3 separate regions of the Homo sapiens genome follow, and regions 1 and 2 are each linked to region 3. Evidence: promoter capture Hi-C in 16 types of primary human blood cells and fetal thymus (Javierre and others, 2016). All regions are on one chromosome and are shown on one strand. The core of a region is centred on a gene start or on the middle of the fragment in contact, and the rest is flanking DNA. Distances in the headings are between cores, read along the strand shown.

Region 1 (3,739 bases), core at 473-2,972, 790 kb before region 3:
ACACCAAATCCAAACTCCTCTTTCTAACGTTCTAAGGCTTGTTGTATTTTAGGCTTTTCTTAACCTTCCAAGTTTTCTTTTACTGTTCCTCACCAACCTGTTCTAGGTAAGTTAATTTCCTTACTGCCATGTCTCTACACTGAGGTCCTTGTAAGCCATGCCGTCTTCATTCCCGGGCTCAATTGTGGGGTGCACTCTCAACTCATCTCTGAGTGTTCTTTTTTGAGTAATAACCTCGTGTTTCCCTTTGGATTTCTGCTGATATAGAAGAAGTAATTACTATACAATGTTTATTGTACTAGGTCTTATATTAAGCTGTGTAAGCTTCATAACAGTTGTGCAGAATCCTCTTTCTTGGGTGCACCACAGCACCTAGATTTGTGCATGACCTCAGTGCTGATCATCAAGGGCTCCTGGAGATTATTTTTTTTTAGCTACAATTTGTTGGGCCTCCCCTCTGACTGAATTAGAATCTTTAGTGAGTAGGCCCTGAAATGAAAATCAACATTTTAATAACTTCCCATTGACTATCGGGTTTAAAAATTGCTAATCTATATTATATCACCTACAGTGGTCCTCCTACTCTATGGGGATACATTCCAAGACCCCCAGTGGATTCCTGAAACCAGGCACAGTTCCGAACCCTATATATCCTGTGTTTTTTTTTCTATACATATATACCTATGATAAAGTTTAATTCATAAATTAGGCACAGTAAGAGAGTAACAATAATAATGAAATAGAACAATTACAACAATATGCCAGCATCACTCCTCTTGCACATTGGGGCCATTATTAAGTAAAATAAGGGCTACTCAAACACAAGCACTGTAATACTGCAATAGGCGACCTGATAGCCGAGATGGCTACTAAGTAACTAATGGGCAGGCAGTGTAGACAGTGTGGGTACACTGAACAAAGGGACTGAACAAAGGGATGATTCACATCCCAGGCAGTACAGAATCGGATGGCCTACCATGTCATGAGGCTACTCAGAAGGACACGCAAATTAAAACTTAGGAATTATTTCTGGAATTTTCCATTTAATATTTTTGGACTATGGTGGTTAACTGAAACTGTGGAAAGCAAAACCACAGATAAGGGGATGGGACTACTTTATTTCCTAAGCTTTCAGTAAGTATTCACTGTGAATGGAGATCAGGAATTGTGCTGGCAAATGCGTACTTAAATTAGACAACTTAGTCATATTAGCTCTGCTTGCAGGTCCCTAACTAAGGTAGAGGGTATAGTAAGGAAGTTAGCTTGGCTAAAACAGAGATATGGTGGAAAGGAGTAAAAGATATGGCTGAATAGGTTAAACACACACACACGCACGCACGCACCTAATGCACACACACACACCCTAAATTATAGTGAGCATTGAAGACCAGGCAGAAAAGTCTATTAAATATTTATGGCATCTATGAATGAATTGTTTCTCAGGATTGAGGTAAAACCTGAGAGTCAATAGTGATGAATGACGCTTAAAAATATGCTTCTATTTGTATGCTACCCATGGTAAATTGAGGAGAAATTCCATGATGTGTATTCTTTGAAGGAGGTGTAAGTTCCTTGAAAAATTTCAGGACCACAGAACTCCACCTACTGAAGGGAATTCTGCTTGAGAGAATAAGATTGAGAGAGTAAGATTTTCTGTCTGTTAGAGAAAATTGCTTATGTATGTCTTATTCTGAATTTTTTTAAAAAAATCAATATAAGCCTACTACTCTGTGTGATGAGTTTCTGTTGTTTGATGTTAGGGGGGCAGCTGTTCTGAGAGTAATAATTTAATGGGAGATATTTTTACCAGAGAATTTTGTTTGGGGACCGACCTTCTATTTGTGACTCATAGAAAGAACATGCTTTCACTCCATTATTTTCTGCTCTACTGTGGTAGTTGTGAATGCCATGTAGCAAATTCTTAACTACTCCTGAATAACTAAATGGTATGTTCTGTAATATTATTTCTAGTATTAATTGATTTTCCAAAGCATGTATTTCCATTTTTAATGTTTGGTGGAAGAGCCTCCCTCCTTTTTAGCAGATGATCTCACGCCAAATAGTTATATTTTAGGATGGTACAGAAATAGTATCTAAGATGCAGACTTGTAATGTTTTAGTGATTTTTCATGGCAGTGTGCCTTCCACTTCTGAGGTCAGGTCTACCTGATTCTCCCCCTCTTCCTTCTTTCCTTCCTTAATGAGTCAATTCCTGTCTGTGCTTGTATCATACCTTCCTCAGGAGGTACAAAAAAATTGGTTACCTGGAATGTATATTTAAATGTCTTTCTAATTTTCAAATCACCATAAGCTTGTAAGCATGTAGCCATTTTTATGAAATTGTGTAACATGTTCATTAAAAGTCAAAGACTGTTTACTGTAGAATTTACATTTTGATTTTTAAAAAGTATAGTAAATAAATGATCCTAAAGAAAAAGAGCCTATTGATAGTTTTTAAACCTTCATTTTTATAATGTCCCAATGGACTTTTTTTTCCTGAATGAGTTTAAAGTTCAGTCGTTGGCATCATAAACCTTAATATGCAAAGGATTTGTTTTAATAGCAATATTTACTTTTTGCTCATATTTGTCTAGTGTTAAAGATAATTTGCCTGTTATTCATGGTAGGCTATAAATCTTTTACACACTTGAAAATTTGTGGCTTCATTTATGAGACAGAAGACAAAAACTTTTGAGATGATTTTTAGACCCATTAATCCATTAGTGCTCAGAGATTTACAGAATGTATCCAATGAAACAATGACTATAAACACGAAGTATGCAACGTGATTAGTTCCCTTAACACTAACTAGAACTTTTATGTTTAACTCCCCAGATACTACTTGAAACTTTTTTACCCTTTGTCATCCTAATACTCATTATAATAGCTCTCATTAATTGGTGTATCTCCCAGTGGGTTAATTTGCAGATACCAGCGATGCCATCCTTGTGCTAACTCTAATGCAAATTGATATTTAGAGTCTTCAAAATTGAAAACAAAAAAAGCTCTGTAACAAAAAAGACAAACTTTGCTGGTTTTTTTTTTTTCTTGAGAGATTGAGATATAGCAAGATTCTGAGAGAGAAGAAAACAGGCCAAAAAAATTCACAAAAACTAGTGTAGGCTAATAAACTGATGTGAAAATTTCTCAATTTACAGCACTTGACAGGTGCTAAAAGAAAAGCATCTTTAATTTTAATGTGTTGTTAGGACCTCTTTAGAGAGACTGTACAAGTTATTAACAAGGTCCTCTGAGACAGGAGACGGGTAATTAACAAGACCTATGGAGATATAGTTTAGGTAATTAACGAGCTCTTAGGCACTGGACACTGGATAACACGTAGCGAGTCCAATACTTAAAGAGAACAAGTTGTTATGATATGATCAAATATAAGATACAGCATGTAAGCCCTCTTGAGGTTTCTGATAGGAAAGTAGTAAGATTGTATTCCAGTGACCCCAGTGCACTGACTATTGTAAATCAGCATGTAAGGTTTTTGGTTTAACTTTTAAGGTAGCATTTGAGAGAATTATTTTTAATTGTTGTTACATGTAGATTAATAATCTTTGCTAATTGCCATTAATGAACATGTGTATTTTGAGAAAAATGCATTGGAAGCACATCAGTTGTATGATTCTAAATTGTCTTAAACATTTATTTTCAGTTTATTTTTTACCTGTGACTTGTCGGCTAAAATTGCCTATTGCAAATTAACCTTGCTTTCCTTGTCTACTTTAAA
Region 2 (3,809 bases), core at 186-2,685, 990 kb before region 3:
GTTGGATAAATTATGGTCTATCCCTTCAAAGGAATAGTTCATGGCTGTGTGATGCCTTAGAATGATCTTTTTATATCTCTCAGTTATCTAGTTAATAAGCTTTGGTCTTATTAACAATTCTTTATATTAAATTATCTCTGTTTAAATAGCTGGAGTGACTTCTGTCACTCAGGTAAGATTGCAAATTTCCAACTGCAAATACCCCTGAACCCTCACCATGCTACTTCTTTTACTTCACAGAAAAAGTAGACGCCTTCAGCTGAGAATTACCCATTTCTCACAATCCACACATATAAATGTACCCACATCTGTTCTCTTCTCTCACATCCTTTTCTGTTTTACAATAATTAAAGCCGTCTCTCCTCCTGTTTAAAAGGCTGTCCTAACTGTGTGCTTTTGAGTCCCTCTTCCTCCTGTCCTCTGAGCAAATGCACACTATTGACTAATATCCATTTCCTCTCGTATATTCAACATTTTCTCAAATGGATCCTGTCTATTGGATTTTAAATATGTGCAAATCTCACGGAATAAAAATAATCCATCCTGAATTCCCACCCCCCAACCAGCTACCATCCCCTCTGAACAACCAAACCTCTTTAAGAGATGTCCCTTGGGAGGCTGAGGCGGGTGGATCACTGCCAGGAGGTCAGGAGTTCGAGACCAGCCTGGCCAACATAATGAAAACCTATCTCTATTAAAAATACAAAAAAATTAGCTGGGCATGGTGGCGGGTGCCTGTAATCTCAGCAACTCAGGAGGCTGAGGCAGGAGAATCGCTTGAACCCGGGAGGCGGAGGTTGCAGTGAGCTGAGATCACGCCACTGCACTCCAGCCTGGGCAACAAGAGCAAAAAACTCTGTCTCAAAAAAAGAAAAAAAAAGAGATATCCCAACTCATTGTCTCCATTTTTCCCCTTTCCACCTAGTCCTCGGTCTACTGCAATCCAGTTTCTGGTCTTAGCAGTCTGCTCATGCACCCATGGGTCACATGCAATGGTTATTTTGAGGGAAGTCTTCAGTGTTTCTGCCTCTCTGGCTGCCTCAGACACTGTGGCTTGTGTGGCACAGGCTATCTCTAGTCAGAGACACTTCCCACAGGTAGGATTTTACATTTACACCTGGGGTTGATGGGTTGATGTTGGTCTCCCCACAAGTTGTATGTTCCAAGCAATCAGGGCGTGTACCTACCTTGCTCTCTGCTTCAACTCTCAGGGCCTGTCTCTTTCTTAAGATAGGTAAGCATTTGTTGAATGAGTGAATTAATGAGTTTGAACTGGGGACCACTGCTCTCGGGATGTTACTCTCTCAATCCCTTTACACCAAGTTTGGGCCATAATCCTGGAAGATATCACTCCAAACTCCATAATCCCAAATATTGGAATCCTGAAATATCAAAATTCCAGAAATACAATTCAGAAAAATAAAAATTTCCTTAAAAGATGTTCATTTACATTTTTGAAGGGGGATTTATTTGAGAAAAATATAAAACATGACAATACTTTATACACCACTTTAAACAGTAAAATAGTCAATAATAACATATATATTTTTGCAAGCATAAATATTCGAGTGCTAAAGACAGTCACATGGATATAACAGTTGCGAGCAGATGAACCATATTCATAAAGGAATAGGTCAAAAGGAAAATGTAAAAACCCAATTGCACCCAGCTTTGTAACTGCAGTCATCTGAAATACCTTGACAACAACCTAAGTCTTTGACAAGATCAAAAACCGCAAGGAATCACTACCGCATATGCAGTCATCTAAAGAGATGAGACATGGAGAAATTTCATCTTTCACAAATGCAGATGTACAAAAAAGACAACTCTTCATTTGTTGAGGAAATTTCAGTGTTTTTGCGCACATACATAATGCTTACACACAAGGTCAGTATCATGATGATGCACTTTCATGGAGTCAAATTTGCAAAAATTGCATAAAGCAAAGTAGAACTCTAAAAGTCTTTATAGAGTTTATACCTCCAGTATTGGAAATAATGCCAGGATGAAATACATAGCATAATGAGTTATAAAAAAAAATACCAACAATTTAAAATAGTGGTGGGGGGGGGGGAGGGACAAGAAAATAACACAACCCCTTTCCCCAAAAACTAAAAAGAAAATTTGACATATGCAAAAGTGCATTACAGGGATAGGTTATGGGCAATTAATTTCAGAGGTAGTCCATAAAAACTGGCTGGTGTTCATGATCATTGACAATATTTTGAAGGCTTATATCTTGATGAATAGCTGCTTTTTCCTTTTTAGGGCATGGGTCCTCAGAAAATATGTTCCCATCCATTTTCTATGTAGCATTGCTCTTTTTGAAATTCTTCTGTGATTCGATATACACTGACATGAAACTTCCCTATTACATTTTCCCATTTTTTGTTCTATGCTTCTATGTTGTTTTGTATGTATGTATCTACGCATGTGGAAATCCATTCCCCATGTTCTTGTATACAGGCCACAGATCTGGCAGAAACGATACAGGTGATGGGACGGCAACACCATTGGGAAAGTCACTTCTTATCCTACCAAACACATAATTATTTTCCAACCAGTTAGTAACTTTGTTGTCTTCTTCAGGCAAATGCAGCTTTAGTTCATCAGACAGCTCCCAGAACTTCATCAGTTGGAAGGAATGCCAATGCAGATAAATGATGGCATGACATCCCTTTGTTGGTTGAAGCAGTCATAGAAGCCATATGGATTTAACAGAAGGGAACAGTAATTCTACTTCTGGATGTGAGGAGGGCGATAAAAGCTTCACTTCAATGTATCATAATCAGCTACATCAGAATTATTATCTTTCAATGCTTTGAAGTATTTTTATTTTTATGTATGTATGTATGTATGTATGTATTTATTTATTTATTTATTGAGACAAAGTCTCGCTCTGTCGCCCAGGCTGGAGTACAGCGGCGTGATCTCGGCTCACTGCAACCTCTGCCTCCCGGGTTCAAGTGATTCTCCTGCCTCAGCCTCCTGAGTAGCTGGGACCACTGGCGCGCACCACCATGCCTGGCTAATTTTTTTTTGTATTTTTAGTAGAGACGGGGTTTCACCCTGTTAGCCAGGATGGTCTCAATCTCCTGACCTTGTGAGCTGCCTGCCTCGGCCTTCCAAAGTGCTGGGATTACAGGCGTGAGCCACCACGCCCAGCCACTTTGAAGTATGTTTTTCCTCAGATTTTATTTCTATTTAGGGTAAATACTGCCTATAAATATAATTGATCATTATACCATAGAAGTCTTCATGTTCTTACAATAACATCTAAAGATTTAATAACTCAGAAGTGTTTATAGCAATCACAGCAGGCCATTGAGATGGGAGGTAAAGTAAAAAGAACAGAAGGGGTAGCAATATTTTGTGATTAATGTGTCCTAATAGCTAAAATATAATGACTCCCAGCAAGTCGTGGACACTCAAAGAACATCTGAAATGGAATATTATTATTAGTGTTTCGATCTCTTCTGTTTTCATGATTTCTTCTCTGATGCTTCTTTTCATTTTTGAAAGTTGTTGGGTTTTAATTGGTTTATTACTCAAATATCATTCTTTCGTCTTACAGCTTTATCAGCCCTTTCCTGTATTTTTAAAAATTAAACTTTTAATTTTGAGATAATTCTAGATTCAAATGAAATTGTAAAAAGTCATATAGATACCTTGTACCCTTCGCCCAATTCCCCTCAATGAGAACAGTTTGCAAAACTATAGTACCATTTCACAAAAAGGATATTGACATTGATAAAGTCAAGATACAGAACATTTTTAACACCGCAAGGGTCCCTCACGTTGCCCTTCTA
Region 3 (3,586 bases), core at 1,084-3,583:
ACCATGCCCCCAACGGCCCTGAGAACTGTCTCCTCTCAAAAGGCAGCTGCTGTGCTGAACTGACTGGTCCCAGAGATTCTGTCATTTGTGGGTTTCTTCCACATTGTTCCTTCAAGGAATATTTCAGAAAAGCAAAATGTGGCCTGACGTTAAGAGAGTGCTGACCTGGAGTCAACCAGTGCTTCTAAGAAAGAGAGGCTCAAAAGACTTTCAAATGAATGAATCAAGGAAACAGAAAACTACACTTCATTATGTGTCTTAGAAAAAAATTAACCTGCAGGAAGTAATAACTTGGAAATTCTGCAACAGGCCCACTTCATCCTTCTATTATGAGTGGGAATCTGTAATTTTTCCTACAACTTGTAAGATTTAAGAATTCCTAAGGCTTTCACAAGGAAAAAGCAAAACTGAAACAGGCCAGGCACGGTGGCTCAGGCCTGTAATCCCAGCATTTTGGGAGGTCGAGGCGGGTAGATCACCTGAGGTCAGGAGTTCAAGACCAGCCTGGCCAACATGGCAAAATCCTGTCTCTAATAAAAATACAAAAATTAGCCAGCTTTGGTGGGGCATGCCGGTAACCCAGCTACTCGGGAGGCTAATGCAGGAGAATCACTTGAACCCGGGAGGTGGAGGTTGCAGTGAGCCAAGACTGTGCCACTGCCCTCCAGCCTGGGCAACAGAGTGAGACTCCATTTCAAAAAAACAAACAAAAACCAAAATAAAAAGCAACAACAAAAAATACAAATTAAATTGTGAAACATATAATCGAAGCTGTGAGCACATGTGTCCAATGGAGCATTCGAGCCGAAGCAGAACTAATGCCGTTGGTACTGAACAGGGATGAGCTCCACGGCTCTGATAACTCCTCGAGATGAAACCTATCAGATGCTCTGAAAACTGCTGTGAGAAAACCTGCAAATGGAGAGAAAGGAAACAGCTCCCACCACTTACAGTCTAAATGAGTCGTGATTTTTTTTTCATTCATTAAAAACTGGGATTTTTTTTTTTAAGGAAATGCATGCCAAATACTTCTCTGTTAATGGGCCTAATTAAGGGACCTGGATTTCGATTATTTAATTTTTCAAAATTCCACTATAGGAAAAATAATAGAACCAAGATTGTTCAAATTGTTCTTGCAATGGTTCCTGAAATATTTCCATCTCAAGTCATTCACTAATACAGTATATCTAAATGTCTTGTTTTTGGAGTAAGGGATCGAAACTTGCTCTTTTAGGTACTACACCAAATTACTAACCTGCCTTTTCGAGTAGCCCAATAATTATTCTAACACGTAATTTTGAACTTTAGGAATTTCTCTTTTGGAACAGAAATCTTTTTCATCGCAGTGAAAGCAGGCAAGAGGATGCGGGAAATTATCAGGGGGAAACATAAGTTCTGGGTCTTATCGGATGTCACAGTTTTTGACCCGAGCATCAGGAAAGCGAAGCCACACAACGCGGCTCCTCCTAGCCCCGGCGCGGCAGCCTGGAGGGGATGTCTTTTTTGCAAAGCGAGTTCTCCAACTTTCCCGGGCCTTGGCGGAGCTCCGGGACCGCGCAGGGGTAAGTGGAGTGCCGGGGAAGGGGCGCTGGGGCTGGGGTGCCGGGGCAGGGGTGCCCTGTCCGCACGTACCCACGACAGTGAGCAGCATGTTGTCCAGCAGCAGCGCCAGGAACACGATGAACAGGATGAGCTTCCGCGAGCGGCGGCTCTCCTGCAGCCAGCGGACCAGCGCCAGCTCGCTCAGGGCCATGGCTCCGGGGCTCCGCTGCGGGCGCGGTGCGCGGTGAGGACCCAAGGCGGCCGTGGACCCCCCATTCTCCCGTCCCCCAGGCCGCGGAAGGGCGGGTCAGGGAGCCGCGCGCACCGGCATCCGGGGACACCCCCGGGCGCCCCAGCCTCGGCTCACCTGCCTCGAGCGCGTCCCCACGAGAGCCCGCGCTCCCTGGAAAGAGCGCCCGCGAGCGCCGTCGGGGACCCAATCTGGAGACCCAACCTAGAACCCCCAGGACGCTGCCCTGATCCCCGCCGCCCCCAACTGTGCCACCTCCCAAACTGCACGCTCGGCCCCGTGCACCTTGCGCCCTGCGCCCTGCGCCCCGGCTGCCCCGGGGTCCCCGCAGCCCCGCCCGCGTAGCTCTGGGGGCCTCCCTGCCTCCCTGCCTCCCCCGGGCCCGCTCCCCTCCGGCACCGCGCCCTGCGAGCAGGGAACCGGGGCCGTGTTACCTCGGGGTCGCTTGCGATGCCTGCCCGGGTCCTCCGTGCCCGCGCCAACGCCCGCACCGCAGTGGGCTCCGTCAGTCCGGGCGGCTCCGGGTCGCAGTCTCCGCCCCAGCGCCCCGCCGCCGCCGCTCAGTTTACCCCGTCCGGCTCTGACGTCACGGCCGGAGGGAGCGGGGGCGGGGGGCTGGGGCGCCCCGGCCTCCGCCCGCCCGCGCCGTCGCTGCGCAGGAGGGGCTGCCGCCTCCCTGTCCCCGCCTCGGCCGCGGCCGCGCCTCTTCCCCGGACCCAGCGCGTGGCCGAGTGCCTTGGGGACCCAGGCCTGGGGAAGAGGCAGGGGCGCAGAGGGAAAGAGGTCAGAGAGCCTGGACGAAGAGTGAAGGGCCAGGGACCAAGGCGAGGAGGCACGGACCAGGGCTTTCTTGTGGCTCCAAGTGGTGGCTCGAGCTGCTTTGAATAAATCACGTGGCTCTTTGAGCCTCAGTGTCCCTGAAATGGGCCGTGAGGACGGGAATGATGGCCGCGGGGTGAGATCGCCAGGGGTGACAGGTGCTGGGAGCCAGGGACAGGCTTCCCTTTCCTGAAGAAGCCACCCTTTGCACCCACCATCCCCTCCCCTCTCCGACCTCTGCAGCCCGATGCGGGGTGCCACTCGGAGGAGCCTTTGAGCCTTGGGCATCCTCAAGCTGGTGACTTGGAAACGGGGGGGGGAAGGGGACACTTTTCAGTGTCGCCCTATGGTGGGAGTTGGGGAGGTGAGGGTCCCAGGTCTCAGAAAGTGGGAGCAGTGGGTTTGGGCCTCTGGGGCCACCTGAGCAGGGGACCCTGGAGGCTAGGTGAGTACACCTGGCCTCAGAGAAAGGGCTAGGGGGCGGGCTGTGGGCGGGGCAGCAGGCCTAGGCCCTGTGTCCTGTACTCTCTCCCCACCATGCTGTGCCTGGGCGTCTGGGTGAGAGGTGGTTCCTAGAGCCAGGGGCCTGCGTGTGGCTGGTGCAGAGCTGTCATCCTCACTGCTAAGGGCTAAGAGCCTGCCTTTGATTTCCAGGTCCCTTTTATAAGCAAAGGAGAAACAAACAGATGCCCTCTGACATCGCTGGAGCTCTGCAGGCCCTCCGAGGGGACCGTGGGAGCAAGAGCTGTTTTCTTGAAAAGCTACCTAGAATAAATGTTACCCTGTCACAGTCTCTTAGCAGAAGAGTGGGCTTGTTTTATTAATGTTAGCTTGTTGACAGCAGGAGGCCACTGAGAACAGCAGTGTGATGTGTGGCTGCCCCCGCTCTCTCCACCTCCCTACTCCCTTGCAGAGACCCCCTGTGCTTCTCATTGCTACCCCATGTGTGAGAAGAGATGGTTGAATAGGTAAGTA

The links. The method cuts DNA at HindIII sites, captures the fragments that hold promoters and counts their contacts. A CHiCAGO score of 5 or more calls a contact.
Region 1: a fragment that was not itself captured here is called in contact with the fragment with the promoter of SLC18A2 in region 3 in 1 of 17 cell types (neutrophils); the score reaches 5.4 in neutrophils.
Region 2: a contact is called between a fragment that was not itself captured here and the fragment with the promoter of SLC18A2 in region 3, in 2 of 17 cell types (total B cells and naive CD8 T cells). The highest score is 5.5, in total B cells.

The regions. Positions count from the first base shown.
Region 1 is chr10:118,030,005-118,033,743 of GRCh38, reverse strand. The region is part of intron 3 of RAB11FIP2 (RAB11 family interacting protein 2); the gene reads left to right. Among named protein-coding and RNA genes, the nearest start is that of CASC2, 15 kb to the left of the region's middle. The HindIII fragment of the contact is 1,183 bases long and covers 1,131-2,313 here.
Region 2 is chr10:118,229,359-118,233,167 of GRCh38, reverse strand. No RefSeq gene overlaps it. Among named protein-coding and RNA genes, the nearest start is that of LINC02944, 10 kb to the left of the region's middle. The HindIII fragment of the contact is 2,668 bases long and covers 102-2,769 here.
Region 3 is chr10:117,239,861-117,243,446 of GRCh38, reverse strand. It overlaps SLC18A2 (solute carrier family 18 member A2), which reads right to left and starts at 2,333. Exons shown (of 16, transcript NM_003054.6): 1 at 2,227-2,333; 2 at 1,633-1,768. The coding sequence starts at 1,753. SLC18A2-AS1 (SLC18A2 antisense RNA 1) reads left to right here and starts at 1,450. Exons shown (of 3, transcript NR_184310.1): 1 at 1,450-1,562; 2 at 1,664-1,786; 3 at 3,266-3,586. The HindIII fragment of the contact is 8,499 bases long and covers 1-3,586 here.